2 separate regions of the Homo sapiens genome follow, and region 2 is linked to region 1. Evidence: promoter capture Hi-C in human tissues and cell types (Jung and others, 2019). All regions are on one chromosome and are shown on one strand. The core of a region is centred on a gene start or on the middle of the fragment in contact, and the rest is flanking DNA. Distances in the headings are between cores, read along the strand shown.

Region 1 (4,244 bases), core at 1,133-3,632:
GTGTTGCTATCAAGTAATACCTGAGGCTGTGTCATTTATCCAGAAAAGAGGTTTATTTGGCTCACAGTTCTGCAGGTTGTACAAGAAGCATGGTGCCAGCATCTGCCTCTGGTGAGGGTCTCAGGCTGCTTCCACTCCTGGCAGAAAGTAGCGCCTGCATGTGCAGAGATCACATGATGAGAGAGGAAGTGAGAGTGAGCGAGGGGGAGGTGCCAGGCTCTTTCTAACAATCAGCTCTTTAGGAAACTGATAGAGTGAGAACTCATGCACCCTACAGGAACAGCACCAAGCCATCCATGAGGGATTCGCCCGCATGATCCAAGCACCTCCCGCCAGGCCCCACCTCCAACACTGAGGAGCAAATTTCAACATGAGATTTGGAGGGGTCAAATATTCTAACTATAGCAAGTGGCAAAAAGAAGGGAAGAGGGATAGAGTGTTGAGGTTTTTATTTTGTTTGGATGTGCTTTTGTTGTTCTTATTTTTATTTGCTTTTGTTGTTCTTATTTTTATTTGCTTTTGCTGTTCTTATTGTTTTTATTTGCTCTTTTTTGTTGTTTATTAGATTTCATGGTGGTTGTTTCATTGTTTCAAAAAACCAATTTTAGAAAAGATGATATGTGAGTAAAAAGCTAAAGTAAAGAAGGCAAAGGAGACTCTTGAGGGGAAGTGCATTCCAGGCAGAGGAATGGGCAAGAGCAAAGGCTCTGAGGCAGAAACGTGTGGGAAGCTGAGCTTGACCCTCTCTGTTCCTGTGAAGCCATCACTTGGGTCCCAGCCCTTGTGGTCCCTCCTAACATTTTACGCCTAGAATCTTTCTGGTTGTAGGAAACTGATCCAGGCAGAACCTTCCAGACTGAGGGCCTGGAAGAGATTTGTAGGGACAGGCTCCGGGAGAGGTCTCTGCAGTTCAGCTGCATAAATCAGGGTTTTGTCAAGCTTGTTGCAAATGCACATTCCTGGATTATGTCCCAGGCCTGCTAAATCAGAATCTCTGGGGTCTGTGCCCAGAAGTCCGCATTTCTAAAAGCCTCCAGGCACGTTTGAGCATCTTCACTGTATATTCCACCACAAATCGATGTCCATGATTTCTCTCTCAGATCCTCTTCCTATTGACTAGGTGTATTAGTCTGTTCTCACACTGCTATAAAGTAATTCCTTGAGACTGAATAATTTACAAAGAAAAGAAGTTTAATTGACTCACAGTTCTGCACTGCTAGGGAGGCCTCAGGAAACTTACAGTTATGGCGGAAGGCCAAGGGGAAGCAAGGAAGCTAGCATGTTGTAACATGGTGTAGCAGGAGAGAGAGAGAGCAAAGGGGGAAGTGCCACACTTTTAAACCATCAGATCTCATGAGAACTCACTCGCTATCATGAGAAAAGCAAGCGGGAAGTCTGCCCCCATGATTCAATCACCTCCCACCAGGCCCCTCTTCCAACACGTGGGGAGTGCAATTCGAGATGAAATTTGGGTGGGGACACACAGCCAAACCGTATCACTAGGGTAGAATGTGCCATAGTTCATCTCTCTTAGAAAAACGTTTAGAGTTTTTCTTGAGGTGTCTGGTCAGCCATTTCCTGCCAGTGAAAGGAATCACTCTCCAGGTAGAGTCAGCAGGAGATAGGATTTCCTGCTGGAGATAGTGGCGGGAGATAGGATTTGCACATCTGCTCAACACACTCCATCCCGCGAGTCCTGTGCCGGCTGACAAGCGGTTTCTTAAGGACAGTAACTGTTCCAGGTGTATTCTGGGATCAGCGTGTGACACTCATAGGACTCAAAAGATGTTTGCAGAGATAGAGAAAGGGCAAAAGAATGAATAAATGTCACTCTTAACAGGGAGGAGCAGAGGCAGCAGGATTGTGAGTTTGGAAATATTTTTTCCCCAGCACATGGAAGAAATCCTCATTCTTTCAAAATTTTTCATTCCACCCCATCCCTTTCCCAATCCCCACCCCACTCCCAGAGATCCCCTCTTCTTACTCTTTCTATTTTCTGGCCTGTAACGGAAAGGACTAGAGATTTGGGTAGGGCAGGGGGCATACTAACCTCCAAGGGTCTCATGAGTTCAGCTCCATCAATCTCCTACCTCTCCCTATCGCCCCCGACCCTCCCTCAACGCATCCAGCTTACAGTGAGGGGTAATGGAAAGGATTCTTGAATCAAATCTCCTCCCTGCTCCTTCCTCGCTGTAAAACCTTGGGCCATTTCTGTGACCTCTGAGCCTCCGCTTTCCTATCTGTGAAATGGGGCAGGCTCGTGGGGCCTGGAGCATTCAGCAGGCGGTAACCCAGTGGGCGTTCCCTGCACGGTGCCACGCCCCCTCTGCCGCGCAGGCCACGCCCTCATCTATTAGGCTGGACCCCGCGGCGCCTGGCGGCGTTGCCATGGCAACGCGCGTACACAGGCCGGCCGGGCGGGCGGGGTGCCGGGTGCGAGCTGGAGACTCCGCGGGAGCGCGGCCGGGAGGCTTCGCCCCGGAGCTGGCCCGACGCCTCCCGAGCTGGCAGGGCTCTCGGCGGAGGTCGGAGCGTGGGCTTCCTCCTCCCGCCAGGTGAGTGCGGCGCGGGAAGGGGTGGCGGGCCGAGACCGGGGACCGGAAGGGGCGGCCCAGCGAGGACTAGCCCTGGCAGGAGGAGGGGTGGCTCCCCGGCCCCATCCTCCTGGATCCAGGCTCCGGTCCCCAGGAGCACCCCAGTAGCTACCCCAACACCAGCCCCTCCTTTCCAGATGCAGGCCCCACCCCGCCCGCGGAGGAAGCCCCCGGGAGCCTTAGACCCTCCTTGGCACCAGCCATGCCACTCTGGGAAGTCCTGGGGGTTACAGCTGGGATTAGGAGGGGCATCCCTGCTGCCCCTGACTTACGAACGACACCCACCCGGCGGTCAGAGAGACTCCCCCCTTGCCTAACCTCTCCCTTCCCAAATACAACACTGAGGAATTTCTAGGGCTCCCAGGCCACTTAAGATCTGGTAACCCCTCAACAGAAATTTTGCTTCTCTATCTCACTTGTGACCTATAAGCAGGGAGTGCAGATGCCTGAAGCTCTTTTGCTCTTTTGCATGGTCGGTGCCCTGTGTCTTAGAACTAATTTACAGAGTTTAACGCATCTAATCACTTTCTACAGTGTTTTCAGGTAGGAAAGTGACTGCACAGGGCAAGATTAAAGTGGGGAAATAGGGCCCAACCCATTCAGCTAAAGAAATAGACTTTTTTTTTTTTTTCCAGAATGTCATCTAGGATAAATACTGAAGGGGAAAATGAAAGGTAGTTACTGTCAGAGGTTCTTAGGCTACCCTGACTTACTTTTAAGCATTGTTTTGTACTTTCATTCATTCATGATTTACTGAGCACCACTATGTGTCAGGCATGGCAGCGCTGGGGGCCAGAGGGGAGTAATGAACAGACTGTGAGGAAATGCAAAGGGTCTGAGATTTTTACACTACTTGCAAGCTAAGTTAGCCTGCCACTGCTTAATGATGCTAGCAGAAGACCAGAGACTCCAGGACCAGAGACAAAGGATGTTATTACTCACAGCACAGCAGGCACTGTGAGCTCATGTTTGCGTTGGTTCCCCTTGCCCTGCAAGTACCCCGGGGTGATGCAGGACAGCTCAGGTGGATGCTGTGCACACTGCGAGTCTGTTTCCCAGCTAAGGAACCCCAAGCTCAGGAAACTCCAGTCTTTTAAAAGGGGCTGCTAGCCAGTGCCCAACCTTTGCCCTGGAAGGAGATGACCTTTTTTTTTTTTTTTTAATTGAGACAGAGTCTTGCTCTGTCTCCCAAGCTAGATAGAGTGCAGTGGCACAATCTCAGCTCACTGCAACCTCTGCTGCACGGTTTCAAGTGATTCTCCTGCCTCAGACTTCCGATTAGCTGGGACTACAGGTGCAAGCCACCATGCCCGGCTAATTTTTTTGTGTTTTTAGTAGAGACAGGGTTTCGCCATGTTGGCCAGGCTGGTCTCAAACTCCTGACCTCAGGTGATCCGTCCACCTGGGCCTCCCAAAGTGCTAGGATTACAGGCATGAGCCACCGTGCCCAGCCAGAGATGACATTTTTATCATAAATCTGCACTCTGCCCTGGATAGGGACACTATCCCTATCCTCTCAGGATATTTGCCCTACAGATGTCCTTGGAAGATTGTCTGGAACAAAATCTGTCAGTGTCTTTGCTCTGAAGATGGGTACAAACACAGGAAACCCATGGAGAATTGAGTTTAACAAAAACAACACAGTTTGGG
Region 2 (4,244 bases), core at 1,056-3,555, 63 kb after region 1:
AGAAACCAGGTGTCCCCAGTGGCAGCCAGGCCTGGGCCCCTTTATGGGCACAAAGATAAGGTTCATGTTTTGATGACATAGGAAGTGGTGGTCCTTGAAGGAACAGGCCCTCCCCTGTCCCTTCCACTGGTTAAAACTAAAAAGCTTGGTTTCCCCAACACCCCAGCCAAAACTCAATCTGAATCTTTCTGTCAAGCTTGTGAGAAGTACCTGTGTGTCTCCCAGACGTGGGCCAGCCCCCCTCTGACTGTGCCACCTCCTCCCACAGATCAGTGCCCTACAGAAAGGCTACAGCAAGGTGCTGTGCCAGACCCTGTCAGAGCGGAACTCAGAAATCACATCCCTGAAGAATGAGGGCGAGAACTTAAAGAGAGACAACGCTATCACATCAGGTGAGCCCTTGGAGTCGGGCCTGGGAGCTGCCACTCCCGCACCCGTTGTTCTTGGCCACAGCAGACATCACCAATCAACCACATACTTTTTGTTACTGAACTTGGCTGCAGCCTCAGAGTTCTTCCCAGCAGCCCTTTAGGCAGTTCCTGTCCATGAATCTGAGTTCACCCTCAGAGGTTTATGTGCCATCCAGTTCCTAGCATAGGGCCTGGTTTGGAGTGAGCCCTTGATAAATATTTGAGCAAATGTTATCTGTTAGCTAAAAGGCCTGCTGAGCATGGACCTCACCAGGGAACACACAGGACAAGCTGCAGCTCAGGCAGTCCCATGAGCCAGTTTGCTGTGAATGCAAACTAGAATGTGGCTAAAATGGGGTTGCCAGTTTAAGGCACCCAGCCTCTTACCCATCTCACACTGGTGCTCTTGGGCCGGAGCGAAAGCATTTTGCTAATTGAGAGGTAGCTGGATACTCAAGAACTTGGGTGGGCAAGGGGGCAGCCAACTCATGGCCCACCCTTGCCAGGCACAGCTGTTTCTTAGCCTGGATTCATTCATTCATTCATTCATTCAGCACATTTATGGAGCAGCTGCTAGATGCCAGGCACTGTTCTAGGCACTGGGGAGAGAGAGCCCTGAGCAGTCAAGATCCCTCTGCCCCTCTGCTCATGGGGCTCACACTTGGGAGAGGATGACAGACAATAAGAAGTAAAAAGATAAATGAACAAGCCCATACCAGAGAGAGATCAGTGCTCCAGAGGAAATAAAGCTGGACACCGTGGTGGGGAAGCACTCAGGGGGTGAAGTGAAGGAGAATAGCTTAGTGCAAGCTTGTCCAGCCCACGACCTGCGGGCCACATATGGCCCAGGACAGCTTTGAATGAGGCTCGACACAAATTCCTCAACTTTCCTAAAACATTATGAGATTTTTTTTTTTTAGCGATTTTTTTTTTTAGCTCATCAGTTATTATTAGCGTGAGTGTATTTTATGCGTGGCCCAAGACCCTTCTTCTTCTTCCAGTGTGGCTCAGGGAAGCCAAAAGATTGGACATCCCTGGCTTAGTGCCTGGGCAGGGATATCTCTGAGGAGGTGGGAGGGGCTGTCGGGAGGCCCCTGGGAACGGTATGCTGGGCAGAGAGCACAGGTGCAAAGGCCCCGAGGCTGGACCAAGCCACGGTGTTGGATCAACTGCCGGCGAGTGTGGCTGGAGTCAGGGAACAAGGGGCTATGGGACCTGGTGGGGTCAGGGGGGAGGCAGGGCCACATTACATGGGAGGGGTTCAGGTTTTCTTCTAAGTGTGATGGGACACGTTAGGGTTTTTAAGGCAGAGAATGGCATGTCTCGAGACCTGCAGATGATAGGGCCATGGACAGAGAAAGGGGGAAGAGAGAAAAGCAGGTGGTGGAGAGGGAATGAGTCCAGATTGGGCATATTGCTCCTAAAGTCCCCCCTGCACAGCAGGAAACATGCCCGTGGCTGTGAAAGCAGAGCGTAGCATTGAGTCAGACACAATCGCTGTCTCCGCAGGACCCAGGCCGCCTGGCCGTGGCTTTCCCTCTGCCTCACTCTGCAGTCCCCCTCCCCACTCCAGGCTTCTACCTCTGTTCTTCCCTAACATGGAATGTTCTTGGATACTTGTGAGCCCTATGGGCAGGGCTGCTCTGGGCACCAGGCATCCCAGGGGGATCTCGCTGGGCCCTGCCCTCCTCCCCAGCGTCTGTCCATCACACCCCATCCACGCTACAAGCCTGTCTCAGACACCACTCCTCTAATCAAGGAGTCAGACAGACCTGGGCTCAGGTATGGCCTGGGATGGGCTACACTCTCACGGCCCCAAGTGTGGTCCCTGGACCAGCAGCATCAGCATCACCTGGATCCTTGTGAGAAACTGGGAATTTCAGGCCCCACTCCTGACCTTCCGATCAGAATCTTCATTTTCACAAGCCTCCCGGCTGCTGCTTGTGCACACTTAAGCTCGAGAAGCACTGGGCCGGGTTACGCTGCAGTGACAAACAGTCCCCCAAGTCTCAGTGGCTCACAATAGACAGGTTCAGCTCCTGCTTCCACCCTGAGCCCATCATGGGTCAGTAGGGGCTTTGGTCATTGTGGCCACACAGTGACCCAGGCTCACAGAAGCCATCACAACACATCACAAACCCCATCTTCCACAGGAAGAGAGGCAGATGGAGGAACAAGGTGCGGATTTCCTCACCTGCCTGAAACAACTCAAACAAACAAACAAAAACCAAACAAACAGAAAAAAATGTCTGAAATAATGGTTTCCATCTATTGGCCCCAAGAAGCATGTGACGATGATCTGGGAGGGAGTGGAAACAAACAAGATGAAATCTACGATTGCCCCCGGCTGGCTTGCGCTGGAGAGAGTTTCCAGACCACAGCAGGGAGGGGAAGCCAGACAGAGCCCAGTGGTCAGCCCGACTTGAGGAGATGGAGGTGGAGAAGCCAGCACAGCTTGAGTTTGCTGGGTGGCGTGCCAGGCGGGAGGGGGCTGCACGGAGAGCACCCCGGAGATCTCAGAGGGTCCGCCTCAAGTCTTCAGCAGAGTCAGGTGTGATGAGCACGTGCATGTGGGCAGGGAAGGAACCACCCAGGAGGAGCAGAGGGAACCATCTCGAAGCCCACGTAGGCCTGAGAGTAGCTCACTTTCCCACCATCCAGAATGGGGCAACCTTGCACTACACAGGGCACCTGGTAGAGACTCAAGCCAAATTCATTCTAGAGAAAAGGTCACTCTGGTCCCGCCTCACAAAGCATGCAGGCAAGCCCCAGAGAGAGCAGTCTGTTTCTAAGGAACTTAACTGTGTCCCCGGACGAAGCTCATTTTTACAATGAAATTCTGAATCATGTTGTTCTTTATTACACATCCTTGATTGTGCAATAAAGATTGATTCTTGATTGATACCCACCAATAAAACTAGGATGAATGTTTTTCTAAGAAAAGGACCGTATGAGATAACCCAATACCACTGCATTATGCACCCTTCTTCTCACTTTTTCTCAATGTGATAATACAATAATATATTGACTATCTGCTGTCACATAAGTTATCCCAAAAAAGCAACAAATATGTTTATCTTACCCGGTTTCTGTGGTTCAGGAACTTGGGAGTGACTTAGTCTGGCTCAGGGTCTCTCACGAGGTTGCAGGAGCTACTGCTGTCATGTCATCTAAAGCCCGACTAGGGCTCGAGGATCCCCTTCTGGAATGACTCGCTCACATGGCTGTTGGCTGGAGGCCTCAGTTCCTCACCATGTGTGTCCTTCCCTAGGGCTGCTTGAGTGTCCTCACAACATGGCGGTTGGCTTTCCCCAGACTGAGTGATCCAAGGAGAGCAAAGAAGAAACCACAACATCTTTGATGATTCACCCTGGGAAGTCACATTCACCACTTCCACAGTGCCATATGAGTTACACACGTCAGCCCTATTCAGGTGGGAGGGGGCTACACGAGGCCAGGTATTCTAACAGGCAGGGATCATGGGGGCCATTTTGCAAGCTGGCTACCACATATACTTGTGGGTGGCAGGGAATAAACACTATGTGTTAGCCACTCTACTATGTTCTTTATACAACTCTGTAGATACAATGAGAGGTTAAATAACTTCTTCAGACCACTAAGCTAGGCTGGGCATTGTGGCTCACATCTGTAATCCCAGCACTTTGGGAGACAGAGGCTGGTGGATTGCTTCAGCCTGGGAGTTTGAGACCCGCCTGGGCAACATGGGCAAAACTCCATGTCTACAAAAAATACAAAAATTAGCCAGGCATAGTGGCACGTACCTGTAGTCCTAGCTACTTGGGAGGCCAAGGCAGGAGGATCGCCTGAGTCCAG

Evidence for each region. The method cuts DNA at HindIII sites, captures the fragments that hold promoters and counts their contacts. A contact is called where the count stands out against the background at its distance.
Region 2: a contact is called between a fragment that was not itself captured here and the fragment with the promoter of FHAD1 in region 1, in 1 of the 25 tissues and cell types used here (aorta).

What each region holds. Positions count from the first base shown.
Region 1 is chr1:15,244,841-15,249,084 of GRCh38, forward strand. It overlaps FHAD1 (forkhead associated phosphopeptide binding domain 1), which reads left to right and starts at 2,383. Exons shown (of 34, transcript NM_001391957.1): 1 at 2,383-2,555. RefSeq lists silencers at 2,218-2,391, 2,409-2,648. The HindIII fragment of the contact is 8,594 bases long and covers 1-4,244 here.
Region 2 is chr1:15,308,345-15,312,588 of GRCh38, forward strand. It overlaps FHAD1 (forkhead associated phosphopeptide binding domain 1), which reads left to right. Exons shown (of 34, transcript NM_001391957.1): 7 at 269-392. Among named protein-coding and RNA genes, the nearest start is that of FHAD1-AS1, 33 kb to the right of the region's middle. The HindIII fragment of the contact is 6,121 bases long and covers 1-4,244 here.